Regions from separate parts of the Homo sapiens genome. Here all the other regions are linked to region 1. The links are contacts of gene promoters, found by promoter capture Hi-C in blood cells and fetal thymus (Javierre and others, 2016). All regions are on one chromosome and are shown on one strand. Each heading gives the region's core, a stretch centred on a gene start or on the middle of the fragment in contact. The rest is flanking DNA. Distances are from core to core; before and after follow the strand shown. Region 1 holds the start of TBCK (TBC1 domain containing kinase). Region 2 has its middle 3.4 kb from the start of OSTC. Region 3 overlaps OSTC (oligosaccharyltransferase complex non-catalytic subunit). Region 4 has its middle 9.6 kb from the start of RPL34. Region 5 overlaps RPL34-DT (RPL34 divergent transcript).

Region 1 (2,926 bases), core at 341-2,840:
TTTATAGACAGATCCAGGAAAATTACATGACTTATCTGAATCCCTTCAAGTACCACATAGCAAAGCCATGATTTTAACTTGTGTTTGCCACTCTGAAACTCACACTGGAATTCATTTTTCAAGTGTCCTCCAAAGCCTAATTAAATAAAATTAACCCTGTCATCTATAATACTCTTACATATCCAAATTAAGTGCATCAAGAATATAACTGGCCATTTCTTACCACCCATAGTCAAACCACCATTATGCTTCCTCTGGATTATTGCAAAACTCTTCTTATTGGTCTCCTTTCTCCTACCACGTCCTCCTCTGTGTATTTTCCTTAAAGAGTGACCCTCTTAAAAGGAAGTCAGAGCCCATCACTCTACTGCTCAAAACGCTCCAAAGTCCTATTTCATTTAGAATAAAAGTTAGATGTCCTCAAGATCTTCATGACCTGCTCGCCTTGATTTAATCTCCAGTGAAGGACTAAACCCTTCACTCAACTCTGCCCTACAGGCCTCCTTGCTATTCTAGCACGTTTCTGCTTCATGACCTCTGCAATGGCTGGTCCCTCTGTCTGACTGCACTTTCCCAAGATATTCGCGTGGTTAAATCTCCCACTTCTGTCAGCCCTTTACTTAAAAGTCATCTTTTCAGCAAGACCTTCCTGTGTCACTTTATACCCTTCTTCCCTGCTTTACGTTTCTCTTCAGGACTATCACGACCTAAAATACAGTATGTTTCTAATTACTTTGCTTAGTATGTGCCTTCCTCTCTAAAATGTGAGCTACAAGTAGACACAGATTTCCGTCTGTTTTGTTCACTGCTGTTCACCTAATGCCTAGAACGGTGTCTGGAATAGAGTGGGCGCTTAATAACTATTCGCTCAATGAATAAATTCCTGTCTTCACCCTCCTCTCCCCCAAAGCACCTAAGTCCTTTGACACACACATTCACATAACAGTAAATACGCTTAGGGATCGATATTTTTCTGTAGCATTCTTAACTTAGGCCTGCATCCCATTTCTCAAACGTGGCTCCTTTAGAAGGAAGTCTCAAACTCTTTCCTGTTTCCTTAGGCCAGGGCTGGTCCTGCTGCGAACGGACTACCCATTAGCAGCGCAGGCCAGGTCCTCTCTCCTGGAGGCAAGTTAGAGAAGGAAGACCCCTACGATCGCAATCGGCGATCCCCGAGTGAGTGACCCGCCACGACGTCACTCACATGAAGCGGAGGACCACGGGTTCCGAGACAGCCACAGCAGGAAGCATGTAGGTCCAGCCACCCGCGTACTATAGCAGTGAGAAAGGACCCAATGAGGTGTCCTTGCTGAAAGCCTGAGTGTTCTACAGATTCAACCCTCAATTCTTTCTTCCTCTTCCTGTGCTCAGTCCCATTAACCTGCCATACCACGCTCCTCGTCTTCCATTCCCTCACCCAGTATTTTCAATCGACCCCCCCCGTCCCCCCGCACCTCTTTCTCTCTCGCTATATGTCCTTTCGTGGCCAGTTTGGGCAAGGGGAAGGACACCACAAGTCGGGGTCTTTCCTCAGCGTTGGGTCGCGGTGGCTGTGAGGGCGGAAGAAAAGGCCAGGCTGAGGGGAGGGTAGAGGGTGAAAAGCTCGGATCTGTGTTTGGGGAAGGCCAGGCTTGCGCTCCTCGCCGGGTTCCGCGAAGGTTAACCTTGGCTGACTTGGCTCGCGAGCAAAGGGCAGCGTCTGAGCTCCCGGCGTTCCAGGAGTGGCCTCTTTTGTAGGAGCACCTGAAATGCAGCGTCTGGTGCACTAAGCCGTAGCGGCAGCAGCAGCCACAGCGACAGCGCTGGGGCCCTGTGTAGAAGCTCCATCCCCCTTGTCTTTGTGCTTGCCTGCGTCCCCAGACTCAGAGGCAGGTATTTGGGTAATCCAGTTTTCCGTGTCGTAGTGGGTGGGGTCTGTGGGAGGTAGAGGACTATCAGGAGCAGTGAGTGGCCCCGCATGTCTTCAGAATAGATAGAGAACCGAGCTGTGGAGCCGCTTGCTGATAGGTACTGTCTCCATCCCTAGCTACAGCCCGCCTTTCCTGTAAATCAGGTTCACCTGAGTCGTTTGGGAACCGTAGGCTTAGTAATCGCTCTGTCACTGCCTCAAAGGAAGGCTAAAGGAGGTTAGAGAATCTAGAATCCGCCCCTCCATTACTCACCTTGGAGGCAGAATTTTGCTTTGGTTTGTTTCTGGCCCTCGAGGTTTAGTCAGTCGTCAAAGTGTAACACCCCCTTGAGCAGTAGGAGAAAGTGAAGCAGAGGAAGGAAGTTACTTGAGGATTGTCAGTGGCTGCTTTTCAAGGATCCCTGTCCTGGTTTCTATCTATTTGAGACAAAAATAACCTCTTGAGAGAATGTATATATAAAATAAATGAATTAGTATCATTTTCCTGTTGAAGAAATGTGAAATTTTATTCATGATAAAATCGGCGTCTTTTGCCCTATTTTTTACTTTCTTTCCCCATTCGAGTCGTTTAAAACTCTAAGTTCTTTGAGGGCACAGAGTCTGACTTGTTCATTATCCTTTGCCCACCAGCTGGAAAAACAACTGACTTAAAATAGGGGCTTCAAAATATTTGTTGAATGAATGAATTTTCAAGCCCAACTGCTTGCACTGCTGTTTCCCTCATCTAATCTCTCATCTCTACGTTTTTTTTCCCCCGGTAGTTTTCTTCCACTCACGAGGTGTAAGTGAATGTATGTGTGTGTATTTTTGTGTGTGAGCCTTTTTATGTACAACCATTTAAGAGGTAGTGGAAAAAGAACACTGATTATGCTAATTAGTGTTTTATCTTTTTCGATCATTGTGTTTTATTTGGTTATTTTATTTTCAGCTATGTGATGATAAAGACATCTGATTGAAAATAAAATGGTCGGGCGCGGTGGCTCACGCCTGTAGTCCTAGCACTTTGGGAGGTCGAGG
Region 2 (2,824 bases), core at 160-2,659, 2.3 Mb before region 1:
TTTCCAAAAAGTAAGTTTGCTCCAGGAACCAATTCATTATTATTTTTTAACCTCTTAAGCTTTGAAATATTTTTCAACATGAGTTTGTAATATTCTATAAGCCACGTATAAAAGAGACCTTTCATGAGTAAGATATGCATATCTGTTATCATCCATGTCCTAACCCACAATTCCTACAGAAAAATGTTCTATTTAAACATAACATAAACTCTGTAACTGAAAACCAAAGAAATAATGAATATAGCAGTGGGCATTAGAGCATGCCCTTAAATAAACATATAATCAATCATTCAGTGGTTTTCTATTTATAGATGAAGAAGGAAAAATGTTGAGAGAAACACAGTTTACAATATAATATGCAGTAGAGCTGTCATCTTAAGCTACATATAAAAGCAAATGTTAATAATTCTTACTGTGCACAAGCAAATATATATTCAAAGAAGAAAAAAGTGTAAAGATGGTATCTACCAAGCTTTCTGTGTTCATTGTAGAATATTTTAATAAAAAGCCTTGAAGTCAGAAATGGTTCTGCCAGCCAAAAGAGAGGGAGAGCTCCACAAATAAGTTTTTAACTAAATTCTAAACAAACTAGAATTACAAAGGCTACAAATATTGTTGATTTCTGTTTATTTAAATATGTGTTGGAGAGGAAATTAGTAGCTTTGTTTTTTGTAGGATAATAATACTAATATTAACCTGGATTTTTATTTATGAAGACATTTTGCAGTTTGGTTGACAGTGTCTTGAATTATGTTCTTTCGCGCTAGGTTCTGTATAAGCATGAGTACGAAGCACTATTATGTCTCATGATCTAAATAAAAACTCTTTCTAATGCAATATTGTGGGGTTTGGTGTTATTGTTGTAGTTATTTTACATTTTGAAGGTTGTTTTTAAAATTATATGCAAGTAATGGCTGGGCACGGTGGCTCATGCCTGTAATCCCAGCACTTTGGGAGGCCTCCTCACCTGAGGTCAGCAGTTCGAACCCAGCCTGACTAACATGATGAAACCCCATCTTTACTAAAAAATACAAAATTAGCTGGGCATGGTGGTGTATGCCTCTAATCCCAGCTACTTGCAAGGCTGAGGCAGGAGAATGGCTTGAACCCGAGTGGCGGACGTTGCAGTGAGCCGAGATCGTGCCATTGCACTCCAGCCTGGGCAACAAGAGAGAAACTCCATCTCTAAAAATAAATGAATAAACAAATAAATAATGAAAATAAGAAATAAAATTATGCAAGTAAAACATAGGAACCTGCCCAATGTAAAATAATTAATTTATTCAAATATTAGAGACACATATGGAACGAGTTTCCCATTATCACTATTCTAATTTTAGTTCTCCTTCCAGAGGTAGTGAGATCACTGAGTTCTAGAATGTACAATTGGGATAAATGTACTCAGCAAATGGAAAAATCACCATATTGGTTTCCTGACCCATATTATGAGGGCTTTTATGGCAGGAAAGTCTAAGTGTAACCAGTAGAACTGCTTTTACCTACAGAAATAATAAATCTAAAGTGACTTCAGTGGCTGATGTGCTATCAAAGACTTGAAAGATGCTGAGTAGTGATTTCTGCCACATTTCGCTCAATTAACTTGGCCCTTGCAAAAGAAAGATGGACCTTGGAGAACAACAGTGGATTATTGTAAATTTAATCATGTGGTGACTCCAACTGCTGCTGCTATTCCACTTGTGGTTTTGTCGCTGGAGCACATCAACACATCTCGTGGCACCTGTTAGCTGTTCTGGCAAATGCTGTTTCTACTTATGCCTATGGTAAAGATCATCAGAAGAAGTTTGCTTTCAACTGGCAGAGTCAGCAACACACCTCCATTTCAGAATTATATCAATTCCCCAGCTCTATGTCATAATCTGATTTGCAGGAACTTTGATTGCCTTCTCATTCACAGAATATCACACTATGACATTGCATTGATAATATGCTCATTAGACAGTGATCTAAGTAGCAACTACAGTAGATATATTGTTAGGACAAATGCATGCCAGAGGATGGAAAAATAAGCACAATAAAATGTCAGGGTCTCCTCAGGGAAATGTCTAGGGGTTAAGTGATCTGTAATACATAGAAAGCTCTTTCAAAATAAAGGATATTTGCTGCACAATGCTCAATGGATGGACCACTTGCAACATATACTTCATTTGGTCATACCATTTTGATGTATTTGCTGAGCAATCCAATAAGCTGCTAGTTTTGATTGGGATCCTGAATAAGCAAAGGTTCTTCAATAGCAAACTGCTCTGCCACTTGGGCCATACAACTTAGTAGATCCAGTATTACTTGTAACGTCTGTGGTAGATAGGCATGCTTTATGAAGCTTTTGACAAGCCACTGTAGCACAGAGCCTTAGAGCTTTGGCGCAAACCTATGTCATCCTCTGTCAAGAAATAATCTCCAGGCTTGCCACTGAGATTATTTCACAGGCAGTCATTGACAAATGACTCTAGGCTTGCCACTGAACCTTAGTAGAGATGAAACTATTGACCGTGGGCAACAAGCTACCATGAAACTTGAACTACCCATCATTTGACAATTTGGCATTGTCTAATCTATCATCCAATAAACGTGGGTGTCTACAGCAGCATTCTATCATCAAATGAAAGCGTTGTGCATAAGATCAAGCTCAAGTAGATCTTGAAGGTACAAGTAAGTTGTACAAAAAATAGTTTCAAATGCATATGGCCCACATTCCTGCCACATTGTCTCTTTTCTCTCAACCTATATCTATGGCATTATACCTTCAGGCAACCTATGACCAGTTGACTGAAGAAGAAAGCCTGATTTACAGATAGTTCCACAC
Region 3 (2,828 bases), core at 124-2,623, 2.3 Mb before region 1:
CAGCCTGGGCAACAGTGCAAGAATCCGTCTCAAAAAAAAAAAAAAAAAAAAGGTTTACAACACCTTATACTCACTGACGGCTTCAGAACGCCTCTTCTTTTGACCCTGCTTCTACCACTTACTGCATGAGCCTGGCAAACCTCACTCAGTTTCCTCATCTGTAAAATGGAGTTACCTCAAAGGGTTTTAAGGATTATAAGAGAATCTACTCATATAGTAATTGCTACTCGTAGTTACATGCACTTCACAAATGTTAGCTGCTATTTTTAGAGTCCCAAGTTTCTTCACTGGTAACGTAAGATTTAAAAACTACTTGACAATACTGAGGTCTCCTCCAGTGCTTGGCACACAGCAAACACTCAAAAATGTGACTTCCCTCCCTTTCAGCTTCTGAACTCACTTGACTCCCTGTATGATTAGACTTATGTTCAGCCAATGCAATCAACCTAGAACTCACACACTCTTCTTTCTGCTGTATCAGCCTGGCCAATCCACACACTCTGAGTAAAGAGAACTTTCATCTAACACAACCACCTTGACAACCAGATACTTCTCACCTCCTCCCAAATCCAAAACTGAACAAAAATTTAAAAATAAAAAGGTTTGGCTGGGCACAGTGGCTCACGCCTGTAATCCCAGCACTTTGGGAGGCTGAGGCAGGCGGATCACGAGGTCAAGAGATTGAAACCATCCTGGCCAACACAGTGAAACCCCGTCTCTACTAAAAATACAAAAATTACCTGGGTGTGGTAGTGCATGCCTGTAGTCCCAGCTACTCAGGACGCCGAGGCAGGAGAATCACTTGAACCTGGGAGGCGGAGATTGCAGTGAACCGAGATCATGCCACCGCACTCCAGCCTGGCAACAGAGCCAGACTCCGTCCCCCACAAAAAAAAAAAAATTAAAAATTAAAAGGTTCTTTGGATATATACATTGAATTTAAAGACCTCACATAAATTTGCTACTATAATGCCTGATGTGTCACAAAAAGGATACTTTAAAACATAAGCTTCACAAGAAAAAAAAAAAAGGTTCAAGAAGATTTTAAGCAAGCATCCACTAATATCTGCACTCTGTAGTAGAAGTTACCCAACAGCTAGCTTACACTATGAAACAAGAGTACTAAAGACTCATTAGGAGTAACTTCTTGTAATTTGCATATACCTATATGTGAATATACACTTTGTACTCTATCTCTTAATATAGCTATATATTATGGTATCCTTCCTTGTAACTAGTGGGTGACCCATGCTTGTCAACCTATATTTAGATAGAAAAGAATATTTAAATAGACATGTCCTGTTCAAAGCTGCCAAACTTAAAATAGTTTTACCTTAAGGACAATTTGGGAGATACTAAGAAATATTATAATGTTATAACGATACCATGTTAGAAAAAAGAAAAGAAGAACAAATACATTACTATACTTCTTGATAAGAAATAAAAATAAAATTGTTGAAATACACTTACTATAATATATACTCAATCATTTAGCCCCCTCTCTTGACCCAGAAAATTTCATAATCTTATATTCAGGCCTGTGAGAATTTTACATAAGTAAAACCGTAGATAAATACAATAAAAAGTAAATCAAGAACTCAAAAACCAACTAGAGACAGGAGAAGCCACCATGAAGGACCTTCTATTTAATCTTTAAGGCCATTCTTTCAATAATCACTCAGTGCCTCTGTATATTAAGGCAAGCTCTGTGCTAGGTTAGCACTAATAGAAGCTTCTCAAAACACTACCACATTCATTATTGCATTTAACCCTTGCAACAATCTTAAAAAGGTGTGTGAAACAAGGATTAGTCTCATTTTACAGATGAAGAGTGTGACAGCAATTAAGTCGTTTGCTCAAAAATCACAAGGCCAGAAAAGAACAAAACCAGCATTAAAACACAAGTCTCCTCACTCCTGGTCTACTACCCACTCCAATGGTCCTAGAAATGGAAACCTCACTTTCTTCTTTTAGAAACAGTAATGGTTTATTCAGGCTGGGCACCTTGGCTCACGCCTGTAATCCTAGCACTTTGGGAGGCCGTGGCAGGCGGATCACGAGGTTAGGAGATCACTGGCTAACACGGTGAAACCCCATCTCTACTAAAAATACAAAAAATGAGCTGGGCATGGTGGTGGGCGCCTGTAGTCCCAGCTACTAGGGAGGCTGAGGCAGGAGAATGGTATGTACCTGGGAGGCAGAGTTTGTAGTGAGCCGAGATCACGCCACTGCACTCCAGCCTGGGCAACAGAGCGAGACTCCGTCTCAATACGAAACAAAACAAAAACAGTAATGGTTTATTCATTTATTTTTGAAACTGTGGCCATAATCTAACTTGAAACAGAACTTTTAGGACTCTATCTTTAGAATGAAAACACTGACATTGATTAACACTTACATTATGATTGAGAGCACACCTTCTCATTTAATGTTGACAACTGTAACTCCCCAAGGTACATTAATACTTCATTTAACAGGTTTGGAACCTGAGGCCAAGAGAGTTCACAGAACTAATCCAAAGTCTCAGAGCTATTAAGTGGCAGGCCAAAACTGGACTCCAAATTCCTCACCCTCTCTACTACACATTGTCCTCAGCAGCTGTACAAATGTTTTGTTTCTTTAGAATGAATTACGTCCCTTATTTGCTAAAAATGAACCTCGGATATCAGCTTTTTAGTCGCTGAAACAATCCAGCTGCTAGTTTCTCTACAGCCTTAACTCTCTAAAATATAGCTCCAAATCTGGAAGGAAATGAAAGAGATTCTCAAACATCTGAAAGTATGGTTACAAAGCCAAGCCATTAAGCTCTCCTTCAGCCAGAACTGATT
Region 4 (2,822 bases), core at 223-2,722, 2.3 Mb before region 1:
TTTGTGAGTCTAATCCCAGTGTGTACAACAACAAATGTATTTATATGTTCCCCATTTAACATTGTCTCTCCTGTGTGCCATGAGGCCAAGGGAAGAGTCTCATCTGCTTTGTTGACTACTGTATTAACAATTATCCAGCATCATAGTTTCTGGTACATGGTAGTTTCTAATAAATATTTATCGAGTAAATGAATGAAAGCTAAAGCAATTATAAAAGAATGTAAATGTTTGGCAAAAATACTTACATAATCCTTCAGGTTAACCAGAAACATTTAAGATTTATTAAAAATTATTGAATAGCTAATATTTTGGAAACCCAAAAGCATCTTTTCATCCAGAATTATTGCGGATCTTATCCTTTAATTTAGAAAATGTTAGGGACTGAATGTTTGCATCCCCCTCAAAATTTATATGTTGGAGTACTAACTTCCAATGGGATGGTGAGGCTTTGGGGAGGTATATATTATTAGATTTTGAGGATGGAGCCCTGATGACGAGATAAGTGCCCTTCTAAGAAAAGACATGAGACAGGTGATCTCTCCACCACATGTGGATACAGCAAGGAGATGGCCATCTGCAAACAGGAAGAGACATGGAATCTGCCAGTGCCTTGATCTTGGACTTAGCTTCCAGAACAGTGAGAAATAAATGTTGTTCAAGCCACTCAGTCCGTGGTAGTTACAGTAGCATGAACTAGCTGAGATAGAAATGAGATTCATAAAGACAATGTTAACTTCTTTTCTTTTTTTTTTTTGAGACGGAGTCTCGCTCTGTAGCCCAGGCTGGAGTGCAGTGGCGCAATCTCGGCTCACTGCAAGCTCCACCTCCCAGGTTCACGCCATTCTTCTGCCTCAGCCTCCGGGTAGCTGTGACTACAGGCGCCTGCCACCATGCCCGGCTAATTTTTTGTATTTTTAGTAGAGACGGGGTTTCACTGTGTTAGCTAGGATGGTCTCCATCTCCTGACCTCATGATCCACCCACCTTGGCCTCCCAAAGTGCTGGGATTACAGGTGTGAGCCACCGTGTCCAGCCAGATAGTGTTAGCTTTTCTACTCCTGGTTTAGAATAGTTGTTTACCACATCTAGTTTTTAAGAAGATGGAACTTTCCCCTTTGCAAGATTTTTAATTCTTTTCCCTTCCATTCATACAGAGAACTGGTCACATAGAGAACTGGATTCAATAAAAGGCTCATTTTGGATTTTATAAAATCAAACCCTAAACTCTTTACAGAATCGAAGTATTAATAAGTACTTATAATAACAATCAAGTCATTATCAAACATGTACCAGATATATATCAGAGCTCCTGGTACCAAGAGCATACTATATTAGTGATCATATACTGTAACTTGAGTAGTATCTAGGGATGTGCTGGTAGTATTTAACCTCCAGCTCTCTGGGGGAAAACAGGATTTTGCAGCATTTGCTGAGGTGTAAATACTCTCACCATAACAATCTCAAGATGCCAAGCAGACGTCACTGGATGCAAAACTGGAAAGAGATGCACACAACTGGCTCTCTCAAGCTGAGGTGAGGTAGCTCCAGCACACCAACTTTTTCTATTGGACCTAATAATGGCAGAATAATTATTACCGGCAATAAATAATATACTTTAGGGAAAAATCATAACATTCAGAACTGCTTCACAATCTTACTCTGTGAGGATTATATGTGATTTTAGTTGGTTTGATAAGATGCATAGTTTACAGTGAAAGTTGGACATAGCCCTGACTATCAAAATTCTGGAAGCCCAAGCTCTTAATCACTGGGGTAAAGATTATAGGATGTTATTAAGTTGCTAAAACAAACTTGATTTGCTTACTTAAACATTTGGAGATTTTATATTTTTAAGGGTAAAAGAACCCTTTCAACCTTCTAACAGAATTTATAAGCAATTCAACGGAAGGAGAAATATTAGACTTTAAAAAGAAAACCACTGACTACATTCACATGTCTTTTTAGGAACCTGTCAAGAATACTTTGTCACACACATAGAACTGGATTCAATAAGAGCTTCATTTTGTTTTTTACAAAAATCAAAACCCAGAAGAGTTATAGAATCCATTTGGGTCACTTGGACAGAGTCGTTACTATGTTCACACCCGTCAATGCTCTTTGTCTTCTAAATACTGAACTTCAACACCAACTTGTGAATATTAAAAAACAATTCAGCATAAGTGAAATAATCAGATATATAAGAAGGCTCATGTTTTAAAATAGAGAAAAACTGGAAATAGCCCAAATGTTCAAAATAAAGGGAATGTCTAAATTATAGCATGTAAATTTCATACTGCAGGCAGCTACTAAAATATTCTTTGAAAAGAAATATCACAGGGGTTATGTGGGAGAAAAAAAGGAGTTAAAAGTTTATATATGCAGTGGGCTTCCAGTTTTGACTTAAAATGTCTATTTTATTCATGGAAAACAAGATGGGAGGAAAAACATTCAACTATTAAAAATGACTGAGTAGTGGCCCAGCGTGGTGGCTCAAGCCTGTCATCCCAACACTTTAGCAGGCCGAGGCGGGCGGACATTCTGAGGTCAGGAGTTCGAGACCAGCCTGGCCAACATGGCGAACCCGTCTCTACTAAAAATACAAAAATTAGCCAGATGTGGTGGCAGGCGCCTGTAATCCCAGCTACTCGGGAGGCTGAGGCAGAATGGCTTAAACCCAGGAGGTGGAGGTTGCAGTAAGCTGAGATCGCGTCACTGCACTCCAGCCTGGGTGATAGAGTGAGACTCTGTCTCCAAAATAATAATAATAATAGTAAGTAGTGAAATTGAGATTTTTTATCATTCTATTTTTCCAAACTTTCCAAA
Region 5 (3,049 bases), core at 532-3,031, 2.3 Mb before region 1:
AAGGTTAGACTTAACAGCTATGGAGATAAAGTAAAGAGATTAAAAGCATTTTCATTGTAGAACTTTTACACGTTTTTCCATTATTGGGCCTCATAGCCTATATTGCACCATGAATCAATGCCTTTTATTAATCTCGTGATTATTTGTGAATGGCCCAATTATAGTCATATGTTGCTTAATGACAGATACATTCTGAGAAATATGTTAGGTGATTTCGTCTTTGTGTGAACATCATAGAGTGTACTTACACAAACCTAGATGGTAGAGTCTACTGCACACCTAGGCTTTATAGTATAGCCTTCTGCTTCTAGTCTACAAACCTGTACAGTATGTTACTGCAGTGAATAGTGTAGGCAATTGTAACACAATGGTAAGTATTTGTGTATCTAAACATATCTAAACATAGAAAAGGTAGAAGAAAAATATGATATAAAAGATAATGGTACACCTGTATAGGGCACTGACTATAAAGGGAGCTTGCAGGACTGGAAGTTGCTCTGGGTGAGTCAGTGAGTGAGTGGTGAGTGAATGGGAAGGCCTAGGACATTACTATACACTATGGTAGACTTTATAAACACTATACACTTTGTATACACTATATATATATTTATATATAAAAAGATAAATATATATACTCTATATACACACTATATATATGTTTTATATACACTAAATTTATAAAAAGTTTTTTCTTCAATAATAGACTAACCTTAATAAGCTTACTGTTACTTTTTTACTTTATAAAGTTTAAAAAAAATTTAACTTTTTGACTTTTTGGTAATAACACTTAGCTTAAAACACAAACACATTGTACAAGTTTTGCTACAAAGAGTTAAAATATCAGAGCCACTCTAAATAACCACTGTAAATTTTAGAAATAGGAGTTTGAAACAAATTAGATTTTTCTAATAGAAATGTTCTGAGCCTAAAGCCCTAAAGGGGAGTAAGGAAACCAATTAACTTTAATTTAAATAATCATGTCTTAAGTAGCAAATGAGCGAAGTTCTATTGTTAAAGAACAACTGTACTAAATCCCCGAAAGGTTAGATTCAAAATGGTATAAATACAGTGGTTTCACATCTTACTAATGAAATAAATTTCTATTGGTCATTGTAACCTCTGCTTCTTGTCTTACTGGACATTGTTACTGAGGGTGGAGGAAGGGAATGATTGAGATTAAGGGCAGAATAATTATGTGCAATTCCCATTGATGTTCCTATTGTTAGTAACTTTTTTAAAAGCAACCAATGAAACAGCTAATAATTTTATTCCTGGGAAAAAATAAGAAAATCTGAGCAAAGCTTATTTTCTTCTTTTAAGCTTGTATATATAGTATATGATTTTCTGTTTGTACTTGCTATTTAAAAACAATGTATTTATAATGATTGAGGTCACCATGGTGTTTTATATACAAACATGCCCCCTATTTACATCCACAATGACTGAATTTCTGCCAATGTCTATAAGCATTAAAGCAACCATCAAAAATGTATTAATAAGGCATATATTATTAATAAGGTATAATACAGTAGATACTAAACTCATGCCTGGAGTTTTATTCTGGATGAGTTAATGTAGTAAAGTAGGAAGAGAGTGAGTTTAGCAAGCAGTTTGAAGCCAGACGATGGAAAGTTTTAAATGCTATGCTTAAAGGCTTAAATTGTTTCTCTCGTGCCTTGTCTTTTGATTTCTTTCTCCTCACGTGCTACCTTTGTGAACTTCAGAAAGCAAGTTAACCTCACTGAGACTGTCTCTTTATCTGTAACATGGAAGTGGGAATCCCATATTGTGGGTGTGCTGCGGGAATTAACGGAGATAAAGCACGTAGCTGAGGCTGGCACACCATGGCTGCTCAATAGATAAATGGTCTTAGTATTGTTTTCTAGAAATGAAATGCTGCCTTCTGCTCTTCCTTATAACCAGTTTTGCACATCACTGTTACACCTTATACCTTACTAATGTTTGGTGTGTTCTTAGGAGAACATTTTTATTTCCTTGTGTTATTTTGGGGAACTCTAGAAAAACCACTATAGAATTTATCAAAATGGAAACATAGCATGGATTGACAGAAAAGGGCAAAAGAGTTAAAAGGGTTAGTGTGTCAACTCCTTGACTTTCTGGAGATCCTTTTTTTTTTTTTTTTCCCAAAACGTAGCCACTGCCTTTGTGTCTTGTTCCACGTCCTGTGTCTTGTTCCAATTATTTATGCAAATGAAGACAATTGTTTTCCTATGAAAGCTTGGTGAAAAGATGCTATAGAAAAATCCAGTGCATTTTCATTATTGCTTGCTCAACAGCAATACTCTTTTGTAGCAAGAAGAAAATAATTTTGCAAAATGCTCCCCCACCCCCACATGAAAAGTAAAAAGTACATAATATCATGTTTGTGTTGAAACTTTTTCTTCCAAAATGTCATAACCCCATACGAAAGAGAATTAAAATCCCATTATTTTAATTTACATCTAGCCACAAGATAAGTAAAGTTATCATTGAAATTCTAATTAAATGGGATGATTGACTAAGGTAGCACATCAAAGAAGAGAAGTGAATATGATAAGTCGAAGACTTATTAATTAGTCTGCGTGGTAGAAATTCCAGGGATGTCAAGCTGAGCCTGCTTCAAGGAGAAAAAAAGCAGACAAGAAAACGTTCGTTTCTTTGAAGTTAGGAACTGAGATAGTGATGGAGGTAATTGCGTCTGACTGGATCCAGTAATGAAGAGCTGTAAATCAGACTGCAGAATCGAAAGGAAGATTCAAGTAACGAATGTGGCTGCCTCCCCCTGCTGTGAAGAAACAGAATGCAGAGCGCACTAATTGACCCAGCCTATTTCCCAGTAGTTCTCTGTTATTATTTATTAATTTTTAATTTCTGAATTATTTACGTCCTGGGAAATTATTCTTGACAGGCTGTTAGGCGTGCCAAAGTTAATGGAGGAGGAAAGGACTGGTACCAGAATTAGCAGGGATGTAGTCACAGGCTACTGGATTTAATGATTTTGGAAAGAAAAATTGATTTCACACAGTGCGTCACTTTATACTACTTTAGG

What was found. Contacts are between HindIII fragments. The CHiCAGO score rates a contact against its expected background, and 5 or more counts as called.
Region 2: a fragment that was not itself captured here is called in contact with the fragment with the promoter of TBCK in region 1 in 5 of 17 cell types (total B cells, naive B cells, naive CD8 T cells and 2 more); the score reaches 14.7 in total B cells.
Region 3: a fragment that was not itself captured here is called in contact with the fragment with the promoter of TBCK in region 1 in 2 of 17 cell types (total B cells and activated CD4 T cells); the score reaches 5.4 in total B cells.
Region 4: a contact is called between a fragment that was not itself captured here and the fragment with the promoter of TBCK in region 1, in 1 of 17 cell types (total B cells). The highest score is 6.9, in total B cells.
Region 5: a contact is called between a fragment that was not itself captured here and the fragment with the promoter of TBCK in region 1, in 2 of 17 cell types (total B cells and naive B cells). The highest score is 16.7, in total B cells.

Annotation. Positions count from the first base shown.
Region 1 is chr4:106,314,873-106,317,798 of GRCh38, reverse strand. It overlaps TBCK (TBC1 domain containing kinase), which reads left to right and starts at 1,590. Exons shown (of 26, transcript NM_001163435.3): 1 at 1,590-1,868. AIMP1 (aminoacyl tRNA synthetase complex interacting multifunctional protein 1) reads right to left here and starts at 1,249. Exons shown (of 7, transcript NM_001142416.2): 1 at 1,205-1,249. RefSeq lists enhancers at 1,041-1,290, 1,781-1,840, 1,921-2,010. The HindIII fragment of the contact is 5,300 bases long and covers 1-2,926 here.
Region 2 is chr4:108,645,792-108,648,615 of GRCh38, reverse strand. No RefSeq gene overlaps it. Among named protein-coding and RNA genes, the nearest start is that of OSTC, 3.4 kb to the left of the region's middle. The HindIII fragment of the contact is 1,869 bases long and covers 475-2,343 here.
Region 3 is chr4:108,662,669-108,665,496 of GRCh38, reverse strand. The region is part of intron 3 of OSTC (oligosaccharyltransferase complex non-catalytic subunit); the gene reads right to left. Among named protein-coding and RNA genes, the nearest start is that of OSTC, 13 kb to the right of the region's middle. The HindIII fragment of the contact is 723 bases long and covers 1,012-1,734 here.
Region 4 is chr4:108,628,769-108,631,590 of GRCh38, reverse strand. It overlaps a transcript of RPL34 not described here. Among named protein-coding and RNA genes, the nearest start is that of RPL34, 9.6 kb to the right of the region's middle. The HindIII fragment of the contact is 3,691 bases long and covers 1-2,822 here.
Region 5 is chr4:108,611,253-108,614,301 of GRCh38, reverse strand. All of the region lies in intron 1 of RPL34-DT (RPL34 divergent transcript), which reads left to right. Among named protein-coding and RNA genes, the nearest start is that of RPL34-DT, 7.7 kb to the left of the region's middle. RefSeq lists an enhancer at 1,993-3,049. The HindIII fragment of the contact is 918 bases long and covers 1,323-2,240 here.